2 separate regions of the Homo sapiens genome follow, and region 1 is linked to region 2. The links are contacts of gene promoters, found by promoter capture Hi-C in human tissues and cell types (Jung and others, 2019). All regions are on one chromosome and are shown on one strand. Each heading gives the region's core, a stretch centred on a gene start or on the middle of the fragment in contact. The rest is flanking DNA. Distances are from core to core; before and after follow the strand shown. Region 1 holds the start of PI3 (peptidase inhibitor 3). Region 2 holds the start of SEMG2 (semenogelin 2).

What was found. The method cuts DNA at HindIII sites, captures the fragments that hold promoters and counts their contacts. A contact is called where the count stands out against the background at its distance.
Region 1: a contact is called between the fragment with the promoter of PI3 here and the fragment with the promoter of SEMG2 in region 2, in 2 of the 25 tissues and cell types used here (mesendoderm cells and small bowel).

What each region holds. Positions count from the first base shown.
Region 1 is chr20:45,173,164-45,178,897 of GRCh38, forward strand. PI3 (peptidase inhibitor 3) reads left to right here and starts at 1,739. Exons shown (of 3, transcript NM_002638.4): 1 at 1,739-1,838; 2 at 2,698-2,973; 3 at 3,207-3,381. The coding sequence starts at 1,760. The coding sequence ends at 2,972. RefSeq lists an enhancer at 1,329-2,528. The HindIII fragment of the contact is 10,589 bases long and covers 1-5,734 here.
Region 2 is chr20:45,218,146-45,223,219 of GRCh38, forward strand. SEMG2 (semenogelin 2) reads left to right here and starts at 3,228. Exons shown (of 3, transcript NM_003008.3): 1 at 3,228-3,320; 2 at 3,564-5,074. The coding sequence starts at 3,245. The HindIII fragment of the contact is 14,800 bases long and covers 1-5,074 here.

The DNA of each region.
Region 1 (5,734 bases), core at 489-2,988, 46 kb before region 2:
AAACTGAATATATATTTCAGAATACAGACAGAAGTGGCATAACTATAAAGGAAAGCAAGGGCTAATTACCATAAAATCTTAGGAAGCAGTTATCTCTGGGGAGGAAGGAGAATGAAGCAACTGAGGAGAGGCATGGAGCATAGATATAGCAAATATTCTCCTCCTTTACCTGGCAGCTCATTTTAATGCTATTCTTTAAAGAATATAGGTATTTTCTGTGAGCTTTTTATTTGTTTGTATGGCTTATTGTACAATGAGCTTTTGTGTAAGGTAGCCAAAGGCTTCCACAGTCTGACATTCGTTTATGTCTCCCTCAGTTTCAGGCTTGGTGGGCATGTGGTCAGAGTCTAAATCGACAAGGGGTGGGGATTTCACCAGCTGAATTAGTGTCCAATAATTAGTTTGTTACCTTCCCTGCCTTAACTCCACCTCAACTCAGTGACTTTCTTAACTCAGATTCTGTCCCTGACAATACCCAACTTCAGGATATTCATTTCTATTACTCAGAACTTTTGGTAACAATGACAGAATAGTAAGTCAGACTAGCTGAAGCAGAGGGCTAATTTATTGCCTCATAACCCAACCATGAGAAGGGTGTGTGAAGAACTGCTCTCAAGGTAAAGGAGGGAAACCTGGCTGTGTCATCTGAATCTTCTCTCACCATCACTTCTCTCCTTGTCTCAGTGTATTAGAGTCGTTTTTCTCAGACAATTGATCTCCACCCCCAGACTTAGATAACCACTTCTGGAATTCCCTGGTTCATATATATCACCTTTTCCAGAAGAAGGAACCCCCGTTTTCCCCTTTCATTACTCATTCAAATAAAATATGTTAATAGACCAGACCAAGTCTCACACACAACACACACACACACACTCACACACACACACACACACACACACCCCTACCTGTGGTCAGGGGTCAGGCTTTCATGATTAGCAGTCCCCATTAGACTCACAAGTTGATGGTTCAAAGAGACAACAATTCTTCACAAGAAACAGGGTGCTGTTCAAAGAAGTGGGGAGGCATGCTGGACACACACACTGTAGATGTCCAATGTATACATGATACATGTTTTCTACTACTTTCTGATTATTTTCTCCCTACCACTGTGATTTCAAGGGCATCATCCCTCTTCAGACCTAGAATTCCACCTTCCAATTACTTTCTTGATGCATCTGAAAGGCCGTCTCTGAAACAGCAAAGTGCAATAATTAGTCATTATGTATTCAAGGCAAATTTGTCTTACAGAGTTTTTTGCAGGACCAGGGAAGAAGGAAGGAAATGCCCAGTTTGATGCTGGGAGTGGTAAAATGATAAAGTAGATCTGGGTGGGGTTTGTAGCACCAGAGCATAATGGAGAAACACCTTGGTTTTGTAATCAAGACTGGATCTACCAGTGACTTGCTGAATAACCTTCGGTGATTCCTTTCTCTTCTTGGGTCTCACTGTATTTCAAAACATGAAGAATTTCATTGTAATGTTACCTAATAAGTGAGCCAGCACTTCTACTCTGTGAGAAAGTAGGAAAACTCTTGGGACAATCAGAGATGATGTGATGTAATGTCCATTAGTTCTTCCTGTGAATAATCCTGAGGGAAAGCCCCCAGGTCCCTCCCAGAATGGGGTGGATATTTCCCAATACAGCTAAGGAATTATCCCTTGTAAATACCACAGACCCGCCCCTGGAGCCAGGCCAAGCTGGACTGCATAAAGATTGGTATGGCCTTAGCTCTTAGCCAAACACCTTCCTGACACCATGAGGGCCAGCAGCTTCTTGATCGTGGTGGTGTTCCTCATCGCTGGGACGCTGGTTCTAGAGGCAGCTGTCACGGGAGGTGAGTGAACAGGTGACCTGCTGGGCTGGGTTGGACTAAGGGGAGACCCTCTGGGACACCCTGGGCCAGGACAGGGAGCACTTCTGAAGCAGTAGGCAGCACTGGAGCCCAGATTTCAGCTTTCTGTTCTTTGCCATCATATTCAGAAAAAATAGGACTTTGGCTGGTGGACTCCACGTGCTTTCCACCTCAGTGACTGAGATATCAGGACTGTTTGTGGAAGTAATGTTGGTATGTGGCCTTGGCCTCAGATGTCAATACCTGTGCAGAATGTGCAATAAAATAATGAACTCCAGGATTTTAAACCTTGGGTGTGGACACAGTCCCCCGTTTCTCTGCCCCATAAAAGCACTGGAGTAATCAGTACTCTAAAAGGAGGTTAAGAAACAACAAGCCTTCAGGAATCATGTTGTTTGAGGACCCCCATTTTATAAGGAGGGAACCAAAAATGTAGAAATGAGTGAGCAATTGCCAAGGTAATTCCCAGAGCCAGGATGGGGCTCAAGTCTCCTAGTATGTGGCTCAGGGTTCTTTCCTACTCCAATGCACTTCCTAACAAATGACAATGTGTCCTCTTCACTGCTGGGTGTCACCCCAGTCTGACCACTGCTCCTGAGAGACTTGGAGTGGAGGAAGGGGGAAGAAACAAATACTCAAGGGAACTCTGGTCCAGTAGACCACCCCAAAAAAGGAAGAGCCTTCCAAGAGTGTAGCTCCCAGAGGTGTACCTTCCCTACTCAGGCCATGGTTTGAGGATGCTGCAGTAAGCAGTGGATGGACCCAGACCCAGAGGAAAGACATGGCAGCTGAAGCAGAGGCTTACTGGGTATAAATGTGGGCTCGTTTCTTCTTTTAACAGTTCCTGTTAAAGGTCAAGACACTGTCAAAGGCCGTGTTCCATTCAATGGACAAGATCCCGTTAAAGGACAAGTTTCAGTTAAAGGTCAAGATAAAGTCAAAGCGCAAGAGCCAGTCAAAGGTCCAGTCTCCACTAAGCCTGGCTCCTGCCCCATTATCTTGATCCGGTGCGCCATGTTGAATCCCCCTAACCGCTGCTTGAAAGATACTGACTGCCCAGGAATCAAGAAGTGCTGTGAAGGCTCTTGCGGGATGGCCTGTTTCGTTCCCCAGTGAGGTGAGCACTAGCTGGAGAACGAGGAGACCCCTGAAGACACAAAAGAAGGCTGAGCGGTGGGGAAGCATCCCAGGTTGGTGGGAGGGAGGTTGTGGGAGGTGACAGAAAGACTGGGAGACTGAGGGGTCTGAGAGGCTATAACCAGAGTGCCTAGAAGGATGATCTGTCTTCCTCACTGCCTCTGAGTGCTTTGATGTGCTGACTCTCACCTCTGATACTCTTCTCTTCCACAGAGGGAGCCGGTCCTTGCTGCACCTGTGCCGTCCCCAGAGCTACAGGCCCCATCTGGTCCTAAGTCCCTGCTGCCCTTCCCCTTCCCACACTGTCCATTCTTCCTCCCATTCAGGATGCCCACGGCTGGAGCTGCCTCTCTCATCCACTTTCCAATAAAGAGTTCCTTCTGCTCCACTTGTTTCTGGTTCCTATGACTTCTGGGCTCCTGGATGCTTTGGGGAAATGGATGTAGAATTGGGACTTCTTCTCTCCAGTGAAGAGGGGAAACGGTCCCATGGTGAAAGAGAGCAGGGCGGGGGGAGGAAACAGGAGGCACATTGCTAGGGCTTCATATTACAAATCCAATAATCAGCCCCAGTGCTGCCAGCTCCTTTTCACCAGGAAATGGAAATATGGAAATCTTGCCTTTGGCCAAGGACCAGGAAAAACACAAAACACAAAAAATAAATAAACATTACATAAACCATAAGCAGGTCTTTTTTTTCCAATCCACCATCAGTCCTGACCTGGCTACTGTCGGCCTTACCAGTGTGACCAGCCAACCCTTATGGCTGCAACTACAGCTCCCCACTTCCTTCTCATTAATGTTTCCCAGGAATCTATATCTTTTCAACACCACATAGAAAGGATGATGTTACAGATGCTGCGAAACTCCTGCTCTTTAGAATTTCACTGGTTTATGCCTGAGATTCCTCCATGAAGTAGCATTCCTTTAGGTTAAGCAATATTCTCTTCCAGATTTCTGTTTTAAGATGTGAATGAGGAGGCAAGATACACTAAGTCCTTCATACTATGGTGTCAGAGGTTTGGGTGAATAGCATTCTCTGGAGACATACATGTTGGGGGCAGGGCAGACTTGAGTAGTGGAGAAAGGGGCAGGAATATGAGCAACCTCATGGCTCTCCTGTTGACCCACTCGTCCCACTGCGATTGCACAAGGAAACTCTCAGAGAAGGCCACAGCCCCCAGGAGGGGAGCAGCCTGGGTGAAGGGGAATAAGCACAGGCTTGACAGTCAGGTGATCTCAGCACTGGCTTTGCCTCCCCACGTATTGGGTGACCTCTGGCAAATGTATGTCCCCCTTCCAGGCCTCAGAGGTCTATTTCAGTTGAGGGGGTAAGGTATAATTATTCTGCAAAGGAAGGTCTAATCCTGCCACTCTGGGATATGAAACAGCTCTTCTTTGTGTATTGGGTTCTTGCTCTGAGATGACATGGGGAGCAGAGGCTTGGGGTGAGACAATGTGGATCCCTGCACCACTTTGCCCCATCCACGAGCATCTGAGCCATGATTTTTCCCTATTGTTCAGAGGCTAGTCCGAACAACTGTAGGGCTTTGACACTAGGGTGTCTTGGAGTACAGGTGACAGCAGTACCCAAACTTCTGGCTTGACAAATACAAAATACATCATTGGAGGAAATAATGGTTTCTGTTTTTTAATATTTACTCTATTTCCTATACCTAGTAGATTACATGTATTGTCACTTATTTTTCATAAGTCCCTTTCAGATGGCCATTATACATATTTTATTTTCTAATTTTGTAAAAAGATTGAAGCTAAGAGAGATTAAGTAACCATTAAAAGCCACAAGGTTAGTAAGTGATAGTAAATGATATTTTTATTATATGCTAGCAACAATCAGTTAGACATGCTGCATTTTCTATTATTAATATCAACAAAATCACACCATTGCTATAAATAAACAAGAGAGAGGCAGAGCTTTAGAAGAGAAATCTATGTAACTTTTCAGAGGCATATAAAAATGCTTGAATATACACATACTCACAATACATGAATATGCACATATCACAATACATGAAGACTATGTGGTGAAGATGTCACTATTTACTCAATATTTAATATTTATTTAATTTATCCCTAAGGTGTATTATACCCAAAATCCATTTTTAATATGGTGTGGTTATGGAGGTTAAGGGAACTTGAAACCATACTTAAGTTTATGGGGAAGCATAAATTCTTGTGAATAGGCGTAGATGTTTACAAATGAAGATTAACCCTAGGGCTCTGGAACCTCCTAGACTTAAAAAAAAGTTTTGCAAAGTAACAATAATCAATATGTTGTTTTTATTAGAAGAATAGTCAGGTTGAGAAATCAATAGAAAACAAAAGAAAACCCAGAATCAGGCCTCATTATATCTAATTCAGGTAAAGATCAATGTCAAGTTCCAAAACAATGAAGAAAACTTGAATTTTTTAAGAAACAAGATTCAGACGGTAGGTTCACTATTTGCAAAAACAAAAGAACTAACTCTGGTCTGAATTCAGGCAAAGATTAAGCCACTGAGAGAGAAAAATTGAAAGGTTCCAAAAAGACACTTTCTTTTCGCTCAGGAAGCAGGCCAGGATGACAGTCCATGCCTAGCAAGGTAGCTGAGCAACTCAAGATCTCACAGAGACCAGTGGTTTCTTCCATCCAGGATTTGCTGTGGAACAGAGACTGTAATTCCTTTCATGTTCAGTCAGGCAGGGACACATCTCCCAAGAAGACCCTGCCATTTGGAATAG
Region 2 (5,074 bases), core at 1,978-4,477:
TGATCCACACTTGTGGCACTTGAGAGTTTCTCAGCGCCCTAGTTGAGAGAGTGTGCTGCTACAGTGGCATGGCTTTGCCAGTGCTGTGGTTCCAGCGCTAATTCTCAGGTCAGGGGTGTGTGCATCCACGTGGTAGGTAATTCAATTAAGGTATGACTCAATGGTATTGGGGCCAGGGTGCTGTTATCCTGGCTGGAAGCATGGGCACATGTTTGTTCAGTCAGTGAGTGTGACTACAGGCTAGGGGTGGCCTGTGAAGCTGTTTCTTGGTTTCAGGACGTGGAAGTACAGCTTCTCAACTGGTCTGAAGACATGTCTGCCAGGGTCAGTCTACTGGGCTTTTTCTCAGGCCCAAGATGTGGGTGTAAGGCTGCTTGGATGGCCTACGAGAGGAAGGGAATGAGAGAGGAAAGAGGGCTTTTTCTCAGGCACTTGACACAGCTGCATGGCTGAGTGGCTAGGCTTTGAGCATTTCTGTAAGGGGTGGCCCAAGAAGATATTCTGTAGGCCTAGGGTGTAGGCATGGAGCTTCTTGGTTGTCCTTCATGTGTGACCACCAGAGGCAATCTGTAGGACTGTTTCTCAGACCTGGGACATGACCACATAACTACTTGGCTGGCTTGGGTATGCCCACCAGGGGTGGCCCATGGGCTGTTTCTCAGGTTTGGGAAATGGGCTCTCGGCAGCTGGGCCAGCGTGGTGTCAAGCCCAGCAGGGGAGCTTGTGAGTCTGTTTCTCAAGCTCTTATTGGGAGTATAGGGCCACTGAGCAGGCCATGGATGTGTCTCTGGAGGGAGAGAGTGTTACAGGGCTATTTCTCAGGTACTCAGTGTGGACACATAGCCACTGTGCTGCCACAGGGGCATATAAACTGTGTCAAGCTCAGTGACCTGTCTCCTACTTGGTGAACTTTAAAATATTCTACTATTTTTTCCTTGTTTATTTTTTATCATTTGATATTTTCCCAATCATGATACCACATCTAAGATGTATGCAGCACTATACCATGTTTATGCTTTCCAAATTACCGATTTCTGCTTTCATCTTTATCAATAGATTTATTTTTAATTTTGAAATGCTTTTTTTTCAAATTTCATTAAATCCAATCATGATATGAGTATCATAATCACATGTTGTGCCTAGTTTGCATTTTCCTGCTTTGTTTTTGCAAATCTTGTGCACCTTTGTTTTATCTGTATCTTTTGGACACTAGATTAGTTGGAAGTTTTGTTCTTGATCCATAAGTAAGATTAATATTTCAGACTCTTGTTTGTTCCGGTAATCTTGGAACACAACAGTTCCTGGTATTTCCTTAAGGGAAGTGTAAGGAAGATTATAGTGATTAGCAGGTACAGCAATAAATTTGTGTTCAGGAAAACTTTACTCTTTTCTTTTGGGGTCCCTGCCATAAGGAAATACTTACTGCCCTTAGGGCAAACAGATAAAACTGGTAAGATCTCAGAATGGCTCATAGAGAAACCACATAGCTCACATGCTTCAAGTTTGATGGCATAAGTAGCATTTTTTCCTATGGTTGGCCTTTCCCCTCTCCCCTTCCATATAGCATTGCTTACAGGAAGGTTAGGATTTTAAGAGAGAATAATAGAAAATAAGTTTCCAAGCCGTCCTTTCTCCAGAACTACCCTCCACAGTGTTCTGAATGCATACAGGGTCACTGTTCAAATGTTGCTGCTTCTCCTGTTGTCTTCTCATAACAAGGACTTTTTCAGTCAAAGTAAAGAAACTGGCCGGGTGCAGTGGCTCATGCCTGTAATCCCAGCAGTTTGGGAGGCTGAGGCGGGCGGATCACGAGGTCAGGAGATTGAGACCATCCTGGCTAACACGGTGAAACCCCGTCTCTACTAAAAATACAAAAAATTAGCCGGGCGTGGTGGCAGGCACCTGTAGTCCCAGCTACTTGGGAAGCTGAGGCAGGAGAATGGCATGAACCTGGGAGGCACAGCTTGCAGTGAGCCGAGATGGTGCCACTGCACTCCAGCCTGGGCGACAGAGCGAGACTCTGTCTCAAAAACAAACAAACAAAAAAAACAAAACAAACAAACAAACAAACAAAAAACCTTCCTTGGATTTTTCAAGAAGTTTTCACAATTGCAAAAAAACAAAACAAAACAACACAACACAACAAAACAAAACAAAAGCAAAAAAACCCTATGCTTCCACCCAAGGTAAAAATTTTAGCTTTAGGTCCACTCTCAATACATTATTTAATGAACTGAAGTTGGCAAATATTCCTCACAGCCTGTTGGAGGGTTCAGCAGTTTATTACAGAAGTATGAAATGCTTTTATTTAAAAAATGTATTTTGGTAAATACATTTTTGTTTAGGTAAATATCATCAAATAATCCAATTTGGAAACCAACATTCTTACTTCTTTTTCCAACAGTTGTTCCTATCATCATAAAAACATGTTAAATTTTTCTCATCCTTTCAAAAAATCTCTGGAGCTTACCTCACCCTCCAGATACAGCCTCACCTCTCATTCCACCATGAAATCAGACTTCTTGAGATGGTTTCAGCTGGACTCCATCCTTCAACTGACAACCCAACACAACTGTATTCATCTCTCGTTAACATTACTAGCAGTGAGTAACATCAGAAAGTTTTTGACACATGTTAGTCTTTTTTGTGATGAACTTCACAGATACATTTGACATTGGTATGCCTCATTTATTTGTTGAAATTTTTTTCTTTGGCTTCCATGAAGTTTCTTTCTCTTCTGTATCATTCTACTTCTATGACTGCTCCTTCTCGAGTAAAACAGAATGTGTCTCAGGATTACTTTAAAACAAGACAAAGTATAGAGTTATACCTAAAATTTAGTATTTAAGTTATTGGATCAGAAAGGAAACTCGCATTTAGAGTATGAAGGCATTGTCAGCCACCAATTACTTTTGTAACCTGAAGCTAGTCTCCTTCCTACTCCGGACTGAATTTCTTCTGTATAATGCAAGCGATCTGGCATGATGATATACAAAGACCGATAAAATTTTGCTGGGGATTCTGAAAGTAAAAAAAATTGCCTTTGATATTATGTCCCCATGCTAAGTCCCTGGGGACTTTGACATTATCCCCCACTGAGCAGGGGTGAGGAAGCTGGCATTTACTAATAAGCTATGAAAGGGCAGTGCCTTTTGACATTTCAGCTCCACCCATAGCACACCCACTCAAGGAACATATAAATGAAGAGATCCGCTCAGTTCTCAGACAAGATTTTTCAAGCAAGATGAAGTCCATCATCCTCTTTGTCCTTTCCCTGCTCCTTATCTTGGAGAAGCAAGCAGCTGTGATGGGACAAAAAGGTGAGTGGAGAGGGTAAGCCTTGGGGAAAGCTACTTTAAAAAAATGGCCTCTAAGGATATTCAGGGTGCAAACAGTAACCTGTTCAGGCACAGATTCTTCTCCTTGATGAGAATTGATTTTTCTCCACCCAACGCTGTAGGCTTTTGGAAATATCAGAAATTTGTTGGGAAAAGGTGGGAGGTAAGAGTTGCAAGAGAGCTTTGGAGATAATGAATGCATACATTTCTATTATCAATTACCAGGTGGATCAAAAGGCCAATTGCCAAGCGGATCTTCCCAATTTCCACATGGACAAAAGGGCCAGCACTATTTTGGACAAAAAGACCAACAACATACTAAATCCAAAGGCAGTTTTTCTATTCAACACACATATCATGTAGACATCAATGATCATGACTGGACCCGAAAAAGTCAGCAATATGATTTGAATGCCCTACATAAGGCGACAAAATCAAAACAACACCTAGGTGGAAGTCAACAACTGCTCAATTATAAACAAGAAGGCAGAGACCATGATAAATCAAAAGGTCATTTTCACATGATAGTTATACATCATAAAGGAGGCCAAGCTCATCATGGGACACAAAATCCTTCTCAAGATCAGGGGAATAGCCCATCTGGAAAGGGATTATCCAGTCAATGTTCAAACACAGAAAAAAGGCTATGGGTTCATGGACTAAGTAAAGAACAAGCTTCAGCCTCTGGTGCACAAAAAGGTAGAACACAAGGTGGATCCCAAAGCAGTTATGTTCTCCAAACTGAAGAACTAGTAGTTAACAAACAACAACGTGAGACTAAAAATTCTCATCAAAATAAAGGGCATTACCAAAATGTGGTTGACGTGAGAGAGGAACATTCAAGTAAACTACAAACTTCACTCCATCCTGCACATCAAGACAGACTCCAACATGGACCCAAAGACATTTTTACTACCCAAGATGAGCTCCTAGTATATAACAAGAATCAACACCAGACAAAAAATCTCAGTCAAGATCAAGAGCATGGCCGGAAGGCACATAAAATATCATACCCGTCTTCACGTACAGAAGAAAGACAACTTCACCATGGAGAAAAGAGTGTACAGAAAGATGTATCCAAAGGCAGCATTTCTATCCAAACTGAAGAGAAAATACATGGCAAGTCTCAAAACCAGGTAACAATTCATAGTCAAGATCAAGAGCATGGCCATAAGGAAAATAAAATATCATACCAATCTTCAAGTACAGAAGAAAGACATCTCAACTGTGGAGAAAAGGGCATCCAGAAAGGTGTATCCAAAGGCAGTATTTCGATCCAAACTGAAGAGCAAATACATGGCAAGTCTCAAAACCAGGTAAGAATTCCTAGTCAAGCTCAAGAGTATGGCCATAAGGAAAATAAAATATCATACCAATCTTCGAGTACAGAAGAAAGACGTCTCAACAGTGGAGAAAAGGATGTACAGAAAGGTGTATCCAAAGGCAGTATTTCTATCCAAACTGAAGAGAAAATACATGGCAAGTCTCAAAACCAGGTAACAATTCCTAGTCAAGATCAAGAGCATGGCCATAAGGAAAATAAAATGTCATACCAATCTTCAAGTACAGAAGAAAGACGACTCAACTATGGAGGAAAGAGCACGCAGAAAGATGTATCCCAAAGCAGTATTTCTTTCCAAATTGAAAAGCTAGTAGAAGGCAAGTCTCAAATCCAGACACCAAATCCTAATCAAGATCAATGGTCTGGCCAAAATGCAAAAGGAAAGTCTGGTCAA